Linked DNA regions of Homo sapiens: regions 2, 3 and 4 are each linked to region 1. The links are contacts of gene promoters, found by promoter capture Hi-C in blood cells and fetal thymus (Javierre and others, 2016). All regions are on one chromosome and are shown on one strand. Each heading gives the region's core, a stretch centred on a gene start or on the middle of the fragment in contact. The rest is flanking DNA. Distances are from core to core; before and after follow the strand shown.

Region 1 (2,827 bases), core at 100-2,599:
AAAGCTTTTAATTTTCTAAGGATTTTTCCAGAGCTCTCGCCATACGTTTCCCACAACAGCCAGACCAAAGACCAAAACTGTCTTTCCCTGAGAAATATAGAGCATGTGAATCACTTTCTTCTGTTCCCAGTTCTGTGGCAGGCAAACACTGATTGCTCACTCATCATGTGCTACCTGGGCAAAACAGGAATATTAAGTAGGAAGAAAGGTTTATGTTAGGTAAGAGCGTGACTTAGGGCTCTCCTACTTTTTTACAAAATGGAGACCTGGCATTTGTAGCCTCCCACAATGATGTGCCCTGACATTACTTGGATATAGAAAGGTCAGTCTTAGGTGCGTCAGTGACAGCCCACCCCGCTCTGATCCAGAAATTTCAGATGACTTGCATCAGAGGATAAGCCTCTGGCATGTTAATAATGAAAAAATAGAGACAATCACTGCCCCAGCTCATCTCAAATTAGCATCAGTGCAGCGTTAGTACTTTGGTAGGGAGCTTTGCTGCTAAATTCATTCTCTGTAAAGAGGAGAGGCAGAGACAGGGTTAAGGGGAAAACTCCAAGACTGGAATCGCCAATACAATAAACTGTCGAACTGAGTTTTTTCTCCCGCAACCCTAAGATACTAGTAAGTCCTTCCTCTTAGCCAACCCTTTTCACCAGGGCACCGCAGTTTTCTTAGAAGGAGGGTGCTGGGTTTGTCTCAGGTCTTTCTATTCTCCTGCCCGCTGCCCTAGTACATCTGAAAAGGGAGCAGCGACTAGGAAAAGAGACACGTGGGTATTTTCCCATCCTGTCTAGTCATTCCCTGAATCATCACAAGTTATCGCACTTTTCCCCTTAGCCAGCAGCGTTCGAGACTTTCTCTCAAATAATACGGTCTTGTACTTAAAAGGAAGAGTGGTGGGAGAAGAGAGAGGCGGAGAAGACAAGCAAGAAGGGCGTGGAGTGCCGTTCCCGCCCCGGAGTCGGAGGCGCCGGGAGGCCGGACGCCGCGAAGCTGCTAGCCCAGGAATGTGCCGTCTAACTCGCAGGCCGCGGGCGGAGCGCGGCGGGCGCGCTGTGGTCTGCGGCGGGAGCGGGGCAGAGGACGGCTGGCGCAGGGCAGGCTGCAGCGGCGGGCCGGACGCGACGCCGCGCACCTGAGCGCCGGGGGCGGGGCGTCAGCGGCCACGACCCTTCCCACCGCGCGCCGCGCCCCTCGCGCGCCGCCTCGGCCTTTTCCGCTCGTGCTTCGGCGCCGCTCGGCTCCCTTCCCGCCCCTGGCTCCCTCCCTCCCTCCCTCCCTCCTTCTTCTCCCTCCCTCCTGTCCTGGGATTGCCTGGAGCTCCGCACCGCGAGTTTGCCGCGGCACTTTCCGCGCGGCGGAAGAGCGCGCGCCAGCTTCGGCACACCTGGGAGCCGGATCCCAGCCCTACGCCTCGTCCCCTACAAGCTCCTCCAAGGTAAGGCGCTCGCTCACACCCGGTCCTTTCCACGCTCGGCGGGACAGCTGGGTCCCCGCCTCCTCTGCGAACCGGCTAGGAGCTCCGCGCCTCGCCTTGGGAGTGGGGTTGTAGCTGACGGGGACCTCGGACCGGCGGTGGCTAGAGCGCGGAGCAGGCGATACGACGAGCCGACAGGTGGCGGGTCTAGCCCTAGTATCTCGACCGCCGCCGGCGCGGACCTTGGTGGGGATGGGGCGGGCGGGCCGACTTGGGGGTGGGGTCAGTCCTCTCTCCTCCCTTCTAGGGGCGGCGATCGTCGGGGTCCGTACTGTAGGTGCGTGGGAGAAACTTTGCAGGGTGGGGACCCGGCGGCTGCTGGCCGGTAGTGACTGGTGGGCGCGCTCGAGGACTCCAAGGGGCGCAGCCCGGGGGCAGACCCTTGGGTCGGGCGGGGATCTTACGCTTCCCTTACCCGCCCCCTTTTGTCTTTCACCTCAGCCCCGCCGGCTGCTGTGGGAGCGGCGGCCGTCCCTCTCCTGGAGGTCGTCTCCTGGCATCCTCGGGGCCGCAGGAAGGAAGAGGAGGCAGCGGCCGGAGCCCTGGTGGGCGGCCTGAGGTGAGAGCCCGACCGGCCCCTTTGGGAATATGGCGACCGGTGGCTACCGGACCAGCAGCGGCCTCGGCGGCAGCACCACAGACTTCCTGGAGGAGTGGAAGGCGAAACGCGAGAAGATGCGCGCCAAGCAGAACCCCCCGGGCCCGGCCCCCCCGGGAGGGGGCAGCAGCGACGCCGCTGGGAAGCCCCCCGCGGGGGCTCTGGGCACCCCGGCGGCCGCCGCTGCCAACGAGCTCAACAACAACCTCCCGGGCGGCGCGCCGGCCGCACCTGCCGTCCCCGGTCCCGGGGGCGTGAACTGCGCGGTCGGCTCCGCCATGCTGACGCGGGCGGCCCCCGGCCCGCGGCGGTCGGAGGACGAGCCCCCAGCCGCCTCTGCCTCGGCTGCACCGCCGCCCCAGCGTGACGAGGAGGAGCCGGACGGCGTCCCAGAGAAGGGCAAGAGCTCGGGCCCCAGTGCCAGGAAAGGCAAGGGGCAGATCGAGAAGAGGAAGCTGCGGGAGAAGCGGCGCTCCACCGGCGTGGTCAACATCCCTGCCGCAGAGGTGAGCCGGGCGGGGGCCGCAGCCGGACCGGGCCGGGGCGGGCAGCTGCCTCCCGGTGTCTTCCTCCTGGGAGCTACCCGGGGCGCAGAGTTTACCTCCCCTGGCTCGTACTTGTCCCTTCACCGAGTTAGGCAGGCAGGGGGTGATGGAGTTTTACTCTGAACAAATGCTTCCTGGGAAGTTCCCCAAACTCAGAGTAGGACACGTGCTTTTCAGGCTTCCTGGCCAGGTCTCAGATCCAGG
Region 2 (2,827 bases), core at 208-2,707, 490 kb before region 1:
GAGTCCAGCCTTCCTGGACACTCAACAATTACATGACTCCAGCACTATGGGCAACAGGGGCCCACTCAGATTATCTCAATTTTAGGAATGCTCATTACTCTCTCCCCTAAATAGGGCCATTATCTTCCTCCTCCCAGCCTTAAGAATCTTCCCTTTCCTAGAAAGTCTAGCTTCAGACTTTAGAAAACAATTTTTGTCTATTAAATTGTCAATGAGGCTAATGAAACCCAGATCTCTAAGACGTAAAACCTTCTCAGTATGGGAGAGAAAAAAATACGTCTTTTACTATCAACTCCTTTACATTAGCTAGAATGAAAAATATTAAGATATATATTATTCTGCCACTTAACTATAGTGGAAAAGGAAAAAATTAAAGTGATGTGTTAACACTAAAAGTGTCTTGTCTTCTTATATAGCCAGAAGTTAAGCCTGGTGTGGCTAATGTGTTTCATCTAGCCTGATAACTCATTGCTTAGTAGAATCTGCCTGAAGCAGAGCATTGAGAAATAGTTTAAGGTCATGACTGGGTTGAACAGAAAAGGGCTTGCCGTTAGTATAGGAAACGGAAATGCAAGGCCACATGCTACATATTTTCCATTCCTAGTTTAAACATAAACTACAGTTTTGCTTACTAAGCAAATTGATCTAGTCTCAAGTACCATAACTATGGGAAAAAGGGACCTATTTGAAGAGAGAACACTCTAATATACATAATAATCACCCATAAAGAGTTTCTATAAAAGAGTCCCACATCCAGATATTATAATTCAACAGCACTAGTAGCCAGGAATATATACTATTAATGAAATGTCCCTAGGGAATCACGATGCCACTTGTCCAATGACTACAATTTGAGAAACACTCCTATGGAGCAAGGGTCCTATTTGTTCATCTCCATCTGCCCTAATGCCTCCCAACAGCCAGCTGAAGACCTCCAACCTGCAGCCCTAACCTCATTCATCCCTCGGCCTATCCTAACCTATTTGGTAGGATGGTGCCAAGCATCAATCTTGATGCTCTAAAGCTCATGGAATCTTACACATTCCTGTGTCTTTTACAACTACCAATGTGTTGGTGACTATGAAGTCTATGGCTTTGGCCCATTCTCTTTCTTGAGCTCCAGATCAACACATTTAATTGCCTATAGGTAAGTCCACAAAGACTACAAACTTAGCATGTCAGAAACTAAATTGAACTCATCATTTCCTAATATACTCCTCCCAAAAACATCCTGATTCTATCTCTATTATCCATTTTAGTAGGTGATAGACGTAATTATCCACCTGATTTCTCAAGACCAAAAGAAACAAAAAGCCAAAAGAACTTGGAGTCATCTTAAGAGTCCTACTACTTCAAATCTTATATCTATTGTTTCAAATCTGAGGAAACATAAATCACAAGCCCTTGAATTATTGCTGCTATTTGCTGAGAGAGAGAGAAAGGGAGTGAGAGAGAGAACATACTACCTCAGTAGGACTGTCATCTCCAATCTAAGCTATTGCAGTAATTACCTAGTTGGTCTCCACAGTTCAGTGATACATGTTTATGCAGTGTGTGCTCTGCACAGTCCCTACACTTGACTGTTGATGAAGGCACCAATTGTATTGTAAGCATTATATATTTTTATAAAAATTTTCTCACTTTTCAGTAAAATGTCTGTTGTAAGGTAATTATTGATATAAACATTTTCCAAAAAATGAAGTAAAAAGTAACTTGAGAGAGGGTACTCTTTTCTAATTTGTACAAAAGTTCCACATGGGCTATCAGCAGCCTTGGGTTTCCCTGATTCTAGACTTTCTCTCTAAGCTATTCATGCATTTCTGCCGTGGTGATCTTTCCAAGTGCAAACTTTATTGTGGTTTTCCTTCAATAAAGTACAAACATCTACATATCTGCTTCAGCCTACCTGCTGATGTGTACTCCCTATGCTTCAGCCATCCTGAGCTTCTTACATTACTCAAATGTATCATTGCACATATTTCACATGTGCAATTCTCTCAGCTATTGATTCCAATCCACTCCATCCCTACTGCATTCTATCTGAAAAATTCATAATCTTCCTTCTAGACCAGCACAAGTGTTTCTTTCTTTGAAGGCTCTCTGCTACCTCCTTCTCTACCCTGGAAAAGCCACCTATTCTCATTTATGCCTTCAACCAACCTCTATGTCAATTGATCACACTGCATTACAATTATTTTTTTAATTCATCTCTTATAGTAAGCCAGGAGCTCCTTGGTTTAGTATAATCATGCACTATTTAACTTTTCATTTCCTATGGTGATGCAAATTGGTATAGATATTTTAAAGGAAACTTATTGGGTCAGTTGGATTTAACTGGCTCTATTGCCTGCTGTCTAGCATGCTGGCAAGTTTTCACTTTGAGCTGTGATGCTTTCTGCTGCATTTGCTGAGTCGTACCAAGCCTCTGTTATAGATTTCACTGACATGAGTAGGAAGTTTTGATAACATTTAGGGGCAAGAATATGTGATTGGAGCTCATTTAAAGTATACGTCTCTTTAATTTTTTTACCCCCTTTTTAAAAATTGCTTTTGAGACAAGGTTTCACTCTGTTGCCCAGACTGGAGTGCAGTGGCGTGATCATGGCTCACTGTAGTCTCAACCTCTGGGCTCAAGCAACCTCCTGAGTAGCTGGGACTACAGGTCTATGCCACCACACCTGGCTACTTGTTTTTTATCTTTTTGTAGAGGCAATGTTTCACTATGTTGCCTAGACTGGTCTTTACCTCCCGGACTCAAGCAATGCTCCTGCCTCAGCCTCCCAAAGTGCTAGGATTACAGATGTAAGCCACCATGCCCAGCCTATGT
Region 3 (2,827 bases), core at 233-2,732, 290 kb after region 1:
GTTAAATAATGCAATTTTCAAGTAGTTCTGAAGCTTCACTCACATACAGGCTGCCTTAATGTATTAACCTCCAGGTTGTCATTATGTGACAATGTCACAAAGAGGGTACATCTAGATCCAAGTCCAATAGTCAAATATGCTCCTTGACAATCTTTTTCGTGATAGCTGATATAAAAAATTAGGCTCCGCAAATAAACATTTTTTCCCTAAAGGCCTGGGAAATTCTTGCCATATAATTTACATAAGTAATTATGAGTGTTAGCTCTCGTTGCATTATGCAATCTGATCTAGCATCTTATGTGCTGAAACCTACGCTACGCAAGTCGCAAGTCACGTAAGCTTCCTGGATGTAGGCTTTACCTTTAGTTACATGTACTTGACCACTAAGTAGAATATATGCTCGGATGAAGCTGACTTCTCCAGATAAGTTGGTTGTGTGTATGACTGTTCACAGATCTGACCATCCAGCAAGACTTGGAAATAACTCACAGGTGAATTAAAACTTCTTGCTCCTGTGTACTGTAGTTTCTCAAAGAACATGGGGGAGAGGCTTGTTTAATGCTGGTGTATTTGCAAATGCTACTTTTGTGAGGGTGTGGAAGGTGTTTTGGGACATAATATAAATTACATTCTTGCTCAAAAGTGGCCACTCAGTAGTTCTATTTATAGTTTTTCATTTTTAAGAAGAGGGTAGAATGAATTTTATTAAGTACCACCATTATAATTTAGTCTGCCATTCATGGGAATTACATAAGGTAATGGAGGCTTCCAACCAGACAGACAGCAATTAGACTGCTCTGGTATTTGATATATTAGCTTTATTGGGTACTCACAGTTTTGCTTTTACCCTGTGAAATCTGTACTCAGAGGCCAAGTTTCTTTGCAGTGTTGTGGTGCTTATCCTTGGAGCTCTGGCTTTGTTTTCAATTTATAAGAGTAAAATAGATCCAAGGCTCACTTATAAAATATGACTTATCTTGATATATTTAATGAAAACACACAGATTAAACGATATTTACACCCATGTTTGTTGGAAAACTTCTTAGGTGGCGTCATTCTTTTAATAAAGCAACTTCTAAGAGAGTTGTTTTCAAACTTTAGCCTTCATTGGAACCACCAGGAAGGAAGGTTTATTCACAAATTCCTGGGCCCCACTTACAGACTCAGCAGATTTGGGGTAGGGGCTGAGAATTTGCATTTCTAACCAATTCTCACATGATACTGATACTTCTGGGCCTGGGCCTATACTTTGAGAATCACTGCTTTGAGAAATACATCTGCTATTTATCAACCTCCCCATGTCTCTGTCTCTGTCTCTCTCTCTCTTTCTAATATCTAGATCATAATAAAACCCACTGAGGTATTTTATGGGTGAAATTGTGTCCCCTTAAATTCATATGTTGAAGTTGTAACCCTTAGCACCCCAGAATGAGATTGTATTTGGAGACAATGTCTTTAAAGAAGTAATTAAATTACAATGAGGTCACTAGGTGGGCTTTATCCAATCAGTTAGAAGCCTTAAGAGAAAAAAGACCTCCCCTGAAGAAGAGGGAATTTTGCCAGCAGAGTGCCTTTGGACTGAACATCAAGTATTTCCTGGGTCTCCAGTCTACTGGGCTACTCTGCAAATTTTGGACTTGCCAAACTCTAAAATTGAATGAGCCAGTTCCTTAAGATAAAGCCTCTCTCTCTTTCTCCCTCTCTCCCAACTGCCTCTTCCCCTGACCCCCTCACTATTGGTTCTGTTTCTCTGGGGAATCCTGTATAATAGAAGGTCTTATTCCCATCTGGGTTTTGGCTGAAGCATGAAGATACATCTTTCCTTATGAATGTCTTCCAGAAAATAAAAGCAGTGGGGACCTAACTTAGTAAGTTTGGCTTTTCTCATATACACCCGTCATCTAATGACTTATTATCATTTATTCAGATGTATTAGATATTCATGGTATATGGGGCTATCTTTCCTCCTGAAGAGGACCCAACTGGTTCTTCATTATGGGAACCATGCTTTGAATTGCTTTTGCAATAGGTTTGTTCGTGGTATTATGAAAAATAAAACAAAACAAAAACTAACTGTATCTCTCCAGTATGTAACTGTTAATCTGGACTGTGGTTTAACCAGAAGAGCTGATTCAGGTCCTTAATATGCTGAGGAGTCACATGGAGTTTCCTTGGAGGATTTTAACTAATGAATGCTTTGCAAATATGTCAGTATGGATGGATATGGTGTCTTATTATCCCTATTTCTATTTTTCCCTAAGCCCTGCCTCACACACTGAGGATTTAATGAGCTTTCACAGAGATCTCTACATCAAAACGGCTCTTGAGCAGTCCTCAGCTTTACTGAGCTTGCTCTCTTTTCTTCTTTTGTTGCAGTTTTTTTCCTGCCTCTGGCATCGATGTGATTGAATGTAGGGGGCTATTTAGGTTTGCAGCACAGAGGAAACACCTGCGAAAATCTGTTTCTTAGGCTGCCCATCCAAGAGTGGTATTGTTCAGGCTGCCTTGTGTTAAATTAGCTTGAAGAACAGAAATTAGAGCCTTCAGAATTGATCAATCCTAGATAACTACTGTGAAAAATATTTTATCAAACTTGAAACCCAGATTTTATCTCCCAAAGCTTGAAGCTTTGATTTTGTATTGAGACTGGGAAATTGCACAAGTTTACATGGCAGCACTTACTGGCCACGTGGGACATGGCAGCTTCAGAAAGTAGCCTGCACTTCCAGGCAAGAGAGGAGCTACTGTTCCCTAGAGGTTTGCGTGTAGCATTATGGAAACTTTTTACGGGAGAAATTTCTACTATCTGAGCTTGCGATGGGTGGAG
Region 4 (2,827 bases), core at 229-2,728, 270 kb after region 1:
TGCCTCTTTTAGGAAATGGTATAAATGAGTCAAAGGCCATACGCCAATAAGTATTATTAGTGCTTTGCAGGTAAAACCGTTCCTATACAACTGTGTTAGATGGACAGAAGTCAACATTTTACACTGACTGTGTAGTTGACTACTTAAATATATTGTGCTAGACTCTTTGGAGTTAAAATTTAAGTAAGAACTTGTTAATTAAAATGTCAATGTACTTCTAAAAAATATTGAAAGAGAAGGAGTTATATTTAGTTGAAGAAAATTTTTTCACACTAAGATTTTTATTGGGATTTACATAGCATTCAGACCAGCCTAAGAATATTAGTGAGGTGATTAATATGAATTTGATATTTGCCCTCAGTTCAGAGCAATGTGATTTTGGGCATAAGGACAAGTCTATGGTATAGAAATTGAAAATGGGGCCAAAATTAGTTAATTGACTTAAACCCAAAATGTTCTGTGGAAAACAGACTGCCTGTACATGGTTTAAAAAATGGAGATTCCTAGACTGGAAGGCCATTGTGAACATGAACAGACAAAAATGGAGTTTATCTGGTTAAAGAACTTTTGAAACTTTTGAGGTTATATGAGGGGTCAGGTTTATTAAACATCGATTATCCAGCACTTTGCTAGATGATATGAAATAACAGCAGAAAATATGAACATTCCTGCCATTACCTTAGAAGAAGTGACAGTGGGTGGAAGGATGAGAGTAGAAAAAGGAGTGTGCCTGAAAATACAATAAGAACAAATATAAAAATGCCATAATACACGACCTTCATAGACTGGAAGGAAAATATTAGATCTGTTTGACCTCTTTGGGGTAACATTTGGCTTATATTGTTATTTGCTGCTTCTATGAACATAATAAAGGTTTAATTTTTATCACTGAAATTTTTACAAGTGCAAATTAAATGTCTCAAAAAAAAAAAAAAAAAAAGAAGAAGAAAAATCAAAAGCAAAACAAAACCAAAAAGGGCAGCAGCTGAAAATCAGTCTTTCCTATAAGGAGCAGGGCAATGATTAATGGATAACAAATTTAAAAACTTAAAAAAAAAACAAAACACTAGGTCTGCATACAATCACACACAAAACTATTTTATAGAAAAATGGGAGACCAAACAGAAGTTAAGAGAATATTTCATGACATAATTTTGAGAAAATCAAAATAGTCATCAAGTAGTCATAGTGTGTTTAGGAACTATTAATGGCCAATCAGTTTGTAAAAACCAGTCTTTACCAACCACCTGCCAACCACATTCCAGCAGTCCTTAAAAAGCCTCAAAAAGCAGTGGATGAGCAAGAAAAACTGTACAAATGAAAGAAATGTTAACATTGCTGAGAAATCAATACAGCCATGGCCATGCATTTCAAATTGTAGGAAGAGGACAGATGTCTATATGCTTATGCCTGTTGTTTGTACTACCCTCTCTACTCTTGGCATGCCTAAAGACAACTGGAATTTCACTAAAACCTTTGCAAATACAAATAATGAACAAATCCACACACAGCACACAAACACAATACATCCATGGCATTTGTTTGTAAAGGCACTTTCAGAGAAAGAGCATGATTCATTTGAAAGGCTCTCTCTGTGGTTATTTGTTTTCTGGTGATGCAGAAATTCTTCTAAATAGGTCATCATAATACTGATAATCATCTCCACGGTAACCAGCTTTCAAGGCAACTGGCTGAGGGTTACATTTCTAGATGGGGGAAATTGCATTAGAGGCATGGTAGTGACACAAGAAGCTGTAAGCTAGTGCCATTCGAATTCCCTTATACGTACAGCATTTATCAAATACTCTCTTTATAATCTGAACTAAGTATGACTTGTTTGAGGGACATTTGTAGGTGATGCTTCATCTCATTTTTAGGTAATGCTCCATCTATTAACCTAAATAGAAAAAAGAAATAACCAAATACTTGTTGGTTATTTCAACAAGTATTTGGTTATTTCTTTTTTCTATTTAGGTTAATAGATCCAGGTGCTTAGGCCTTCTAATGCTAACCCAGAGCCGGTATCTTGGGAGATTTCAGGAACAAGTGTTCACTCTCACCTTCCTCTCTCTGCTTGCCTCCATCTGTATAGGTGTTCGGCATATTTAGGAGAGGGACTAGATTTCTGTGGGATTGTGCAATAACATCTCGACCATAACATATCATGAAATTGAAGAATTTTTCTGATAAATGGGTTTCTTAGATCTGAGGCAATCCATTTTGCAGTGTCCAGGGATAAGACTAAGCAATTTCTTAGAACTATTCCACAGTTTAAGTCCTTGAAATGTTTTTTAGCCAAGAGTAAGAGGCTAAGCTGGCAAGGAACCCAACCAAACCACCTCAGCTTTATGTTTTTGTTTTGTTTTGTTGTGTGTATGTGTGTTTGTCTATGTCTTAAAGTACTTACAAAATTCTGAGGGCAGAGCTACTTCACAGCTGTCTTATACTTGCAGACTCTAAGGCTTAATTAGAGTTAAAAGAACTAGTTGAGGCCTCCAGGCTCAGGTGATAGAATGAAAGCAGATTATAGAGTCTCTCTCTTTCTCTTTCTCTCAGAACTAAAAACAAGGGATACCAACAATGAAAACCACTAGCTCCCTCCTTTCTAGTAATAAGTCAGCAATGAAATAAGGAAAAGACTGTAACCTAATAATATGGACATTAAAACAAAACAAAGCATGCATGCACGTGTGCACACATGTGTGGGCGCACAGACACACACACATACAATGCTGGCTCACAAAAGAACAGATCTTGGAGTGGTACAGTGTAGCTTCTAACCCTGAACTCCCTTCCTGCCCCTGGAACCTTACTGGTGAATTACTGA

Evidence for each region. Contacts are between HindIII fragments. The CHiCAGO score rates a contact against its expected background, and 5 or more counts as called.
Region 2: a fragment that was not itself captured here is called in contact with the fragment with the promoter of PAWR in region 1 in 2 of 17 cell types (megakaryocytes and endothelial precursors); the score reaches 12.5 in megakaryocytes.
Region 3: a contact is called between a fragment that was not itself captured here and the fragment with the promoter of PAWR in region 1, in 1 of 17 cell types (endothelial precursors). The highest score is 7.3, in endothelial precursors.
Region 4: a fragment that was not itself captured here is called in contact with the fragment with the promoter of PAWR in region 1 in 1 of 17 cell types (endothelial precursors); the score reaches 6.0 in endothelial precursors.

Annotation. Positions count from the first base shown.
Region 1 is chr12:79,689,486-79,692,312 of GRCh38, reverse strand. PAWR (pro-apoptotic WT1 regulator) reads left to right here and starts at 1,349. Exons shown (of 7, transcript NM_002583.4): 1 at 1,349-1,441; 2 at 1,922-2,584. The coding sequence starts at 2,069. PPP1R12A-AS2 (PPP1R12A antisense RNA 2) reads right to left here and starts at 2,281. Exons shown (of 7, transcript NR_187531.1): 1 at 1,917-2,281. RefSeq lists silencers at 1,052-1,351, 2,122-2,641. The HindIII fragment of the contact is 6,027 bases long and covers 7-2,827 here.
Region 2 is chr12:80,181,877-80,184,703 of GRCh38, reverse strand. All of the region lies in intron 1 of OTOGL (otogelin like), which reads right to left. Among named protein-coding and RNA genes, the nearest start is that of OTOGL, 84 kb to the right of the region's middle. The HindIII fragment of the contact is 8,486 bases long and covers 1-2,827 here.
Region 3 is chr12:79,402,154-79,404,980 of GRCh38, reverse strand. All of the region lies in intron 9 of SYT1 (synaptotagmin 1), which reads right to left. Among named protein-coding and RNA genes, the nearest start is that of MIR1252, 16 kb to the left of the region's middle. The HindIII fragment of the contact is 2,281 bases long and covers 342-2,622 here.
Region 4 is chr12:79,423,067-79,425,893 of GRCh38, reverse strand. The region is part of intron 9 of SYT1 (synaptotagmin 1); the gene reads right to left. Among named protein-coding and RNA genes, the nearest start is that of MIR1252, 5.2 kb to the right of the region's middle. The HindIII fragment of the contact is 8,979 bases long and covers 1-2,827 here.